Regions from separate parts of the Homo sapiens genome. Here regions 2 and 3 are each linked to region 1. Evidence: promoter capture Hi-C in 16 types of primary human blood cells and fetal thymus (Javierre and others, 2016). All regions are on one chromosome and are shown on one strand. The core of a region is centred on a gene start or on the middle of the fragment in contact, and the rest is flanking DNA. Distances in the headings are between cores, read along the strand shown.

Region 1 (2,700 bases), core at 62-2,561:
AATGCAAAACTGTCTCCCTAACTTACTTCCTTTCAATGTTCAAGCAAAACAAAGCCCTCTCTACATCCAACATGACAGAAACCCAACATGACAGAAAGTATGAGAATGGTTGGAAATTGCTGAAACAGCAACAGTAAAGATTTAATGAGCTCTCAAAGTACCTCTAGATGTGCAAATATGACAACCCAATAAAAAGAAACACACACATAACCTAGAGCCTTCAAAAATCTAGATTTCTGCCTTTCCACACCTTAACTTGGAATCATTCAGGTGGGTTCCTAAGCATTCTCTCGGAGGTGAGGAATCCTCCAAAGAGGAGACTCTAGGAGGGGCCCAGGTGTGGCAATCTTCAAAAGGATGAGGGATGTCCAGAGGAGAGGTGGCGGGAGGGTGCACTTAAAACACGCGAAAATTGGAAACGTGCCTTCTGCAGTCAGTTCCTTCGGATTTTCCGGCATTTAGAAGCCAGTTCTACTCCTTCAGCCCGACCGTATCTGCAGGTCTCACCCAAGACCAAGACCCCCGCCCCCACCCCTCCTCCACCCGGCCTCGAGCCCCGCCCCGGACGCTGGACCCGAGCGTAACGGGAGCAGGTGTTCACATCAAAGGTCTGGGTCGCGAAGGCAGAGACTCCATGTGCCGCAAAAAAAACTCCACGGACAATTGGGAGACTCCTTTCAAAAAAACAAAACTCCGGAGCCACGCGACTCCGCGCTCAGGGGGCGTGGGTACGGCCCACCACGAGGGCAGGGCTCGGCGCCAGCTCTCGGCAAAACTAACAATATTTGTTAGGCCCTAAACAAAAAGGCCCTAACAGCGATAAATCCATTCACTTCGGGAGTGTAGCAACCTGGGACACCAAGCGCCGCCCACGCCCCAGCTACGCGCCTCAGGGACACATCGATTGAGGCGCGGCTACTTTCGCGCACGCGCCTTGCATGCCCGTGCTTCGCCCTTACAGCAGAGCGCCTAAAACCGCTACGGTGGCTCTGCTGGGGACAAATTATTCACGTCCCACTGTTCTGCAAACCCAATCCGGGAGGTATGACCTGGCTGGGACAGTTTAGGAAGATGGCCACGAAGGCACCTGGGGGAGTAGATATATGTTTTTGAGAATGAGAGGAGTAAATCGCTGGACGACCATGAGCAGGAAGAAAATTAGGCCTCCACCTCCCAACCAGTGGCCCTGAGTTGGCAACTTAGACAGCGCGCGCCAGCGCCAGGAGCCCCGCCTTGGGGGCGTGGCCGCGCGCTGGTCGGCTGGGGCGGGGCCTGCTTCTGGCCTCATCTAGCCCCGCCCCAGGCGAGGGCGCCGCACCCACACCGCGCTGCGCAGTTTTGTTCTGCTCCAGCTGTTCGAAGGTGATCCAGGTGAGTGCTAGCACCTGCGGGCAGCCACGAGCACCGGGCCGCCGGGGGCACTTCAGCCTTTGCGCAGGGCACTCCCATATTTCAGCCTATGCGAGCTGAATAGAGACCCGCTGTCTCTAACCTCCCCCCACCCTTATCAGTAAATTAGCGATCTGAATTTCCACCCTCTCTGCTCTCCCCTTGCCTTGCATCTTTTCCCTGGTGGAGTGGGTTGGGAGCGTCTAAGCGAGGCCCGACCTATTTATGTGTAACTCAGGAAAATTCTCAAGGTCAACCCTTCCTCCATTCCTTCCTTTCCTCTCCTGCTGTCCCCGGGCTCTGCAGTCTGGGGGCACCTTTCTGCCTTCCGGAGACCACCCGACCTTGCCCTCTGCTGTTCCGGCGCAGAGGATGGCGAGCCGGACACTGCCGGGGGAGTGGTTGTGCAGGCCTGATCAGTAACACTGGTTTCAGAAGTGGCCTGTGAGCAATGCACCCGCTGCGGTGGGGATGTGTTGCTAGGGACGGTCGGGAGAGCCTCTGAAGGAATTGTGTTTGTTTTCCTCCTGCCTCTTAGAATCGTTTGTCCATTTGTACTGGGAAGGTGGTCATTTCCTACCGCTGACTTAGAGCAAGAGACGCCTCTAGGCGGGTGGGGGACTCTTCAGGTTCTTCCTTGGATTTCAGAAAATGCCCCTTCTTTATGTGGGGTGGCAGCACGGAGCCGTAGGGCTACAGTAGTGGGGCAGTTGCAGGGCGGTGGAAGGCGCTGGAGACTCCTTAGTGAGTCATTCCCCGAAGTTGTGGCTTCTGCTGATACTTTCCTTGAGAGTCACGAGTTTACAAGCTACATAATAGCGTCGGGGGCAAGTAAGTGTGGAAGACGAGGTAAAGGAAAAGCAGATACTAGGATGGGTAGAAGGAGAGGCAGGGGTTAGAACTTTAATTCCTTCCCTGGGGACAGGAGATGCCCTGGAGGGGAAGGCGCTTCCGGCTCTGCAGGTATGTGCTGTTGGGCCTAGGTGTGGTCCTGCGGAATTGCTGCAGATTTTAGATTGCTGGTGGGTAGGAGCTGCAGCGCTTCTCTTGGGAAATCTGTAGATCACCTGGAGCCAGCAGTTCTGGGAGGCACCCCAGGTTATTGGTCAGAGTTACAGGCTATATTTTATTTCAGTGAATTCAGAGAGCACATTGAGTCAGATCAAGAATGTTTATTCTCATAGGAGATGAATTTAAGGAGTTAAAACTAACATATAAAATAGAAACAAATACTTTCATCCCTGGGAAGACTTTCCGTTAAGCTTCCCTCCTGACACAATGTTACGGAAATAGAAAACTTTGTCAAGTGAT
Region 2 (2,700 bases), core at 87-2,586, 1.2 Mb after region 1:
GCCTTGCCCTAAGGTTACACATGAACACTGACATTTGTTCTTCAAAACAGGTCTCCTGAGCTGCACCCTTAAAAGTAATGCATTTTACCATATGTATGCTATACCTTAATTTAAAAAAAAAAAAAACAGTGCAACCACAGGCTCTCAGTTTGCCAGTCTAGCTGTGGACACCGCGCTGCCTTTGTCTCATCAGTGTTCTTTGCCCACCACATCCTTCTTCCCAATTCTGATCCAAGCAGGCGTCAGGTCTATTTAGCCTGGAACAAGAACTCAAGGCAGTCAAAACTCAGGGCTTTGAGGCTAGATTGGTCAACCCAGAACATCTAAATGGAGAGCCTTGGAGAACAGGTGCAATGAAAGTGAATGTTGGGACAGTGAGGAAGGAGCAAGATGAAGACCAACCATGCTTAGGTGGGAAAAGAAGGAAGTAACCAGAAGGGCTGGAGGAGGGAGTCCAGCAGCTGGTGGTGCTGGGGATTGGGCATTTGTGGCCTCCAGGCAATCAGCCATCCATCCACAGTTACCAAGCACAGTGCTGGGCGTAAAGAGAGACTCTTTTCCTGATGGAATTTCCAGTCTTGTGAGCAAGGCAGGAAAGTAAACATAAGTAATAGTAAGCACAGTGTGCAGAGTGCAGTGGTGGAAGTCTGCAAGGATGCACCAGGAGCCAAGATGAGGGGATGCCTCATTCAGGCTGAGAACTCCGGGGCTTCCTGGACAAGGCCTAATCTTGAGCAGTGAGCAATTTTGCCCCCACCCCTGGACATTTGGCAACATCTAGAAACACTACCCCCTTTCCCCACCCCTGGATATTTGGCAATATCTGGAAACACTTTTGTTGGTCTGACTTGGTGGGGGTGCGTTGGGGACTGGGAGATCCTCCTGGCATCTAGTGGATAGAAGCCAGGGGAGCTGCTAGATATCTACAGTGCACAGGATGCCCCCCCACCACCACACACACACACACATACACACACAACAAAGAGGTAACTGGCCCAAAATGTCAGTTGTGCTGAGGTTGAGAAACCCTGCTCTAGAGCATTAGAAGAAAAGAATCTGTTTTTAAAATATGTATTTTGGTTATAGAGAATTATGTTAGGGTGATCAGTGAAAGCTTTTCAAGCATAAGAACTATGATAATATATTAGGATAAAATTCCATAGAATTGAAATAGAAATACAATTTTAAGTAGAAAAAATAAAAAATGTGCTTTGAACTGAGTCTTAGTCATTATGGAATCAGCCAAGGGAAGGGAAGGGGGTTGCATTCCAGGCAAGAGGACAGCACAGGCAAAAGCACTGAGGAGAGGAGCTTGGGTGCAGAGTTAGGAGCAGCTCCTGCAGCTGGAACCTGAAACTCATGGCAGGGAGTGGAAGGGGATCAGGTATAGGAGGCCAGGCCAGGGGCCAGAGCCAGCCAGGAGGACATGCAGTGCTACGCCAGCGAGTTTGAGCTTTCTCCTTAGCTCTGTGGAATGAGGCCTTAGCCCATCTTTCTAAGGGAGGCCTCAGGCTCTCTACAGCCACCATGCTAAGGCCTGAGTGGCCTGCTAAGAAAGCAAAGCTTTGGCATCAGACTTTCTAGCTCTGTGACCTTGGACAAGTTACTTAACCACTCTGTTTCCTTACCCATAAAAGTGAGGTAGTGATCCCCATGTCCCTAGTTTAGCGGATTCAGTGAGAGAATATATTTATATGATTGAGTGTCCTATACAGTGCTTGGCCCATAGCAGGCACTCCATCAGTGGATCAGTACAAACTACCCCAACCCCTTCCCCCGAGATCCCTGCGTCTTTGCTGGGTGGCTGCAAGGCTTTAGCGAGGCTGTGCAAGGTGTAAGCACTTTACAACATTTACCCTTTGAGATAGCATTGGAATGCCAACTTCCTGAGCAGAGCAAGGCAGTGCACACAAGCTAGAGGAAGAACACTTATCCAGTGAGCCCTTGATCTTCTGAGGAAAGGGAGGAGGGCAGGGACTGAAGGTCCCTACCTGCAAGGCCAAGGAGGGGTGTCTGGAGGTGGTACACAGACTGCCTGACTTCTCAGTTTTGCCCGGGGCCGGCCCTGTTTACCTTCTGCTATGTTGAGCCAGATAAAAGGCCTCTGTGGAGCGAGGGGAGGCCTGCGCAGCAGGGCCTGGCTGAAGGATCGCTCCATTCTCACAGAGGCTTGCTGTGAGGAGAATGTCTAAGCCACTACACTGTGCCTCTGGAGCATAATGTGGGCTTGTTTGAAGATCCTCCGTGGCTCAGTCATTAATAGGAAGAGATGAATCCTGCACCAGCCCCCAGCTTTCTTCCTGCAGCTTCAGGGCTCCTGGTACCTGATGTTTTTACCAGGCCTAGAATATGTTACCCCCCCTAAGAGTATTGATGGCCCCTCTGAAATGACAGGCATAGACAGTCCTGTTCCCATTTTATCAGCAAAGGGAAAGGGACTATAAATAGGTATGACCTAGATCTGGAACTTCCCAGGGAGAAAAAAAGGCCAAAGAGACAGTTCTTTAAAAGCCTGGGAATTGGGAAAGGAGTAGGGTGGAAAATTCCTGGGCTGACTGGCTTTCCAGGGTGAGGAAGTCTGAGGAAAGCCTGAAGACGAATCCATTTTACCTCCTCATATTTCACACTTAGGGATGTTTGTCCATTCTTACTCCAAAGAGTAGGTTTGGTTTTATGACAGATAAAATTTAATGATTCTTT
Region 3 (2,700 bases), core at 82-2,581, 1.2 Mb after region 1:
GCCACCCCAAAATTTCACATGAAGGAAAAACTCCAAAATTCATGTATGACATCCAACCTAAGTAATTTCAATCCAGTAATAATAAAGAACAGAGAAGGATGAAAAGAAAGTATTGGAGAAAAATTAAGTATTCCCAAATTGCTCCTCCACCAACATCATTTAAAAGTATGCATCCACTGAGTAATGCAAATGTGTAGAATACCAGAGAAGCCATCTAGCAGCAACAACACAGGCACTGTAATTTTAAACGTTTATATTTGCTTCCTATATTTTTGAAAAATAAAGTTGTAATAACAACGTTTTGAAAATTTCCAAACTCTTCCTTGTATCCCAGAGGTTCCTTTTTTGCTCTTTGGCTTTGGCTTTGACTGGATACTGATTTTACCCTTGGCCATTCTGCACCTAACCTGACTGTGCACTAGGTCCCCTGCCATAACCTGGATGAAGGTCTGGCTGAGCGTCTCTGGGATCCTTTACAGCCCCTCTAATGCATCAGTCGGGAATCAAAAGCGTGGGTCCCAACTCTGACAGTGACTTTTGAAGAGTTACTTGTCCGCACTAGGTCTCAGTCTTCTCATCTGTCAAATGGGAATAACAACTGTACCTATCTCACATCTGTTGTAAGGATTAGATAATATATTTAGAGAGCTTAAAATGTTTAAAATGTCCGCTACTGCTATCATCACTATAATTGTAGTGTTCAATGACTGTGATTTCACCAGAGGGTCCGTCTGCCTTACGAAATTGCTGTCAAAAGAGCTTACCAATAATCCGTAGCAGATCACACCAGCTCAACAGGCCTCCACCTCCAGGAAGCCCTCCAGGGGCGGGCCGCCCTGCGCTATGCCCTCTGGCTGGACGCGTAGGGCTCCGGCTCACTCCGCCCAAGTCAGCCTCCCGCATCCCGCACGCCCGCGCTGGGGCCCGCACCTGCTCAGCAGGCCCTTGGGTGCGAAGTGCGCTTCTCCCGCCCCACCCAGGGCAGACAGTCCCGAGCAACGGCGCCCGCCGATGTCTCCCGGGCGCCCAGGAGGCCCGGTCTCTCCAGGGCGGTGAGTTCAGGTGGCCCGCCCCGCCCCGGCCGGAGAAACCCCGAAGCCCCGCCGCCGCGGACTCCAGGCTGCACAGGCCCCCGGGCGACGCGGGCGTCTCCGGGGCGGGCTGGCAGCCCGAGGCCAGGAGAGCACCCGCGTGTTGGCCTGGACGCTGTGCTAGGGCAGCTCTTACTGTTTCACGTTGTCCCCCAGGGCCTCGCTTAAGTTCTTCTTGGCCGCCTCCAGCTCGCTCACAAAGGTCGCCATTGCTCCGCGTGTCTCAGCCCGACCGCAGACCGCCCGGCCACCGCGATCAACAACCCAAAAACCAACTCGGCGGAAGGCCTTGGCTCTGGAAGCTAAGCCGGCCGCCGTCAGTCCCGCCCCCAATCTCTCAGAAGTCGTTTGTTTGGTTTTCGGCTCCGCCCGCCTTTTCGCAGGGAAGGTGCCCGGCCAAACTCTGCTCTCTTCCTCCCGCCCCTCGAGTCACGTGATCCGCTTCACCTTGTCGCGCGCCCATCCTAAACCCGCGCGCCCCGCCTCGGCTGCAACGTTGCTGACAGGCTGGCGTGTCCCAAGCTCTTTCATTCTGTTACCGCTGGGGCAATTCCGAATTCAGCCTGCTGTTCTTCTGCCTGGAGGAGTACCTTACCCCTCCATTTAAAAAAGTAAATGCAGTATCAGTTTTACTCTTTCCTTGCCTTATTTTTCCCCGAGCACTAACCGTCTCATATGACATTTAGTTGATTTATCTTGTAAATGTTATGGCTCGAGGACAGGAGTTGTGTTTTATTCACTGTTACCCGCAATTCTCTAGAGCAGCGCCTGGCACATAGTGGATGCTTAATAAGTATTTGAGTAAATGAGGTAACTATGTAAAATTTGGAAAATACACAGAAAGATAAAGATAAAAAGAAGGAAAAAGTGTTTTACCACTCCCGGACAAACACTTAACTGAGAGAGATTTCTCCTTCACTTCGCACACTCCCATGACTTAAAATATTCTATGTTCAATTTTGCACGTTTTTAAACTTAAGGATTTATCTGTAGTATTACATTGTCTTTAGAATAATTTTAATGACAACATATTAAATACCCCCACAGATAGAAGGTACACAACTTGTTTCCCAATTGTTAGACTGTGTCCATTTCTTCTCTATTAAAAAGCAATACTGTAATATTGCTTTTGAAGCATATAGCATAATGAAGCAAAACTTCTTTATGCATAAAACTTTTCCTCCTTTAGGATTATTACTTTAGCATAGAGTCCCACACATAGAATTACTGGATCAAATGATGGGAATATTTATAAATGCCTTGGTGTATATTGTCAAATTGCCTCCCAAAGTTTTTTAAATAATCCTAGATAGCTTTTAGATCTTGTGTAATTTCTCCAAAGATGTCCCCTTAAGTTCATTCATTCAACTTCCTCACTGCCCAACCTAAACCCACAAGCCCTGTCCTGGCTGCAATGCCAGCCGGGCACCTTCTCTTCACTTGAATTCATACAGTGAGCTCCTATTATGTGTCTGGAACTCTTTGAGTACTGGAGATACACAGGTGAAAGGAGATACAAAGGTCAGGCAAAGTCTTCCTCTCTGTGTCAAAACTCTGGGTAAGTTTTGACACATTTAAAAAATATCCACTTAAGTTTTCCATGGCTCCC

What was found. Contacts are between HindIII fragments. The CHiCAGO score rates a contact against its expected background, and 5 or more counts as called.
Region 2: a contact is called between a fragment that was not itself captured here and the fragment with the promoter of MGST3 in region 1, in 1 of 17 cell types (M2 macrophages). The highest score is 5.1, in M2 macrophages.
Region 3: a contact is called between the fragment with the promoter of TADA1 here and the fragment with the promoter of MGST3 in region 1, in 1 of 17 cell types (M0 macrophages). The highest score is 7.2, in M0 macrophages.

Annotation. Positions count from the first base shown.
Region 1 is chr1:165,629,923-165,632,622 of GRCh38, forward strand. MGST3 (microsomal glutathione S-transferase 3) reads left to right here and starts at 1,312. Exons shown (of 6, transcript NM_004528.4): 1 at 1,312-1,371. RefSeq lists enhancers at 233-763, 1,817-1,986 and a silencer at 1,147-1,386. The HindIII fragment of the contact is 6,286 bases long and covers 1-2,649 here.
Region 2 is chr1:166,841,892-166,844,591 of GRCh38, forward strand. All of the region lies in intron 2 of POGK (pogo transposable element derived with KRAB domain), which reads left to right. Among named protein-coding and RNA genes, the nearest start is that of POGK, 3.8 kb to the left of the region's middle. The HindIII fragment of the contact is 449 bases long and covers 1,113-1,561 here.
Region 3 is chr1:166,874,933-166,877,632 of GRCh38, forward strand. TADA1 (transcriptional adaptor 1) reads right to left here and starts at 1,332. Exons shown (of 8, transcript NM_053053.4): 1 at 1,228-1,332. The coding sequence starts at 1,301. RefSeq lists silencers at 789-1,188, 1,219-1,268 and an enhancer at 1,669-1,718. The HindIII fragment of the contact is 11,749 bases long and covers 1-2,700 here.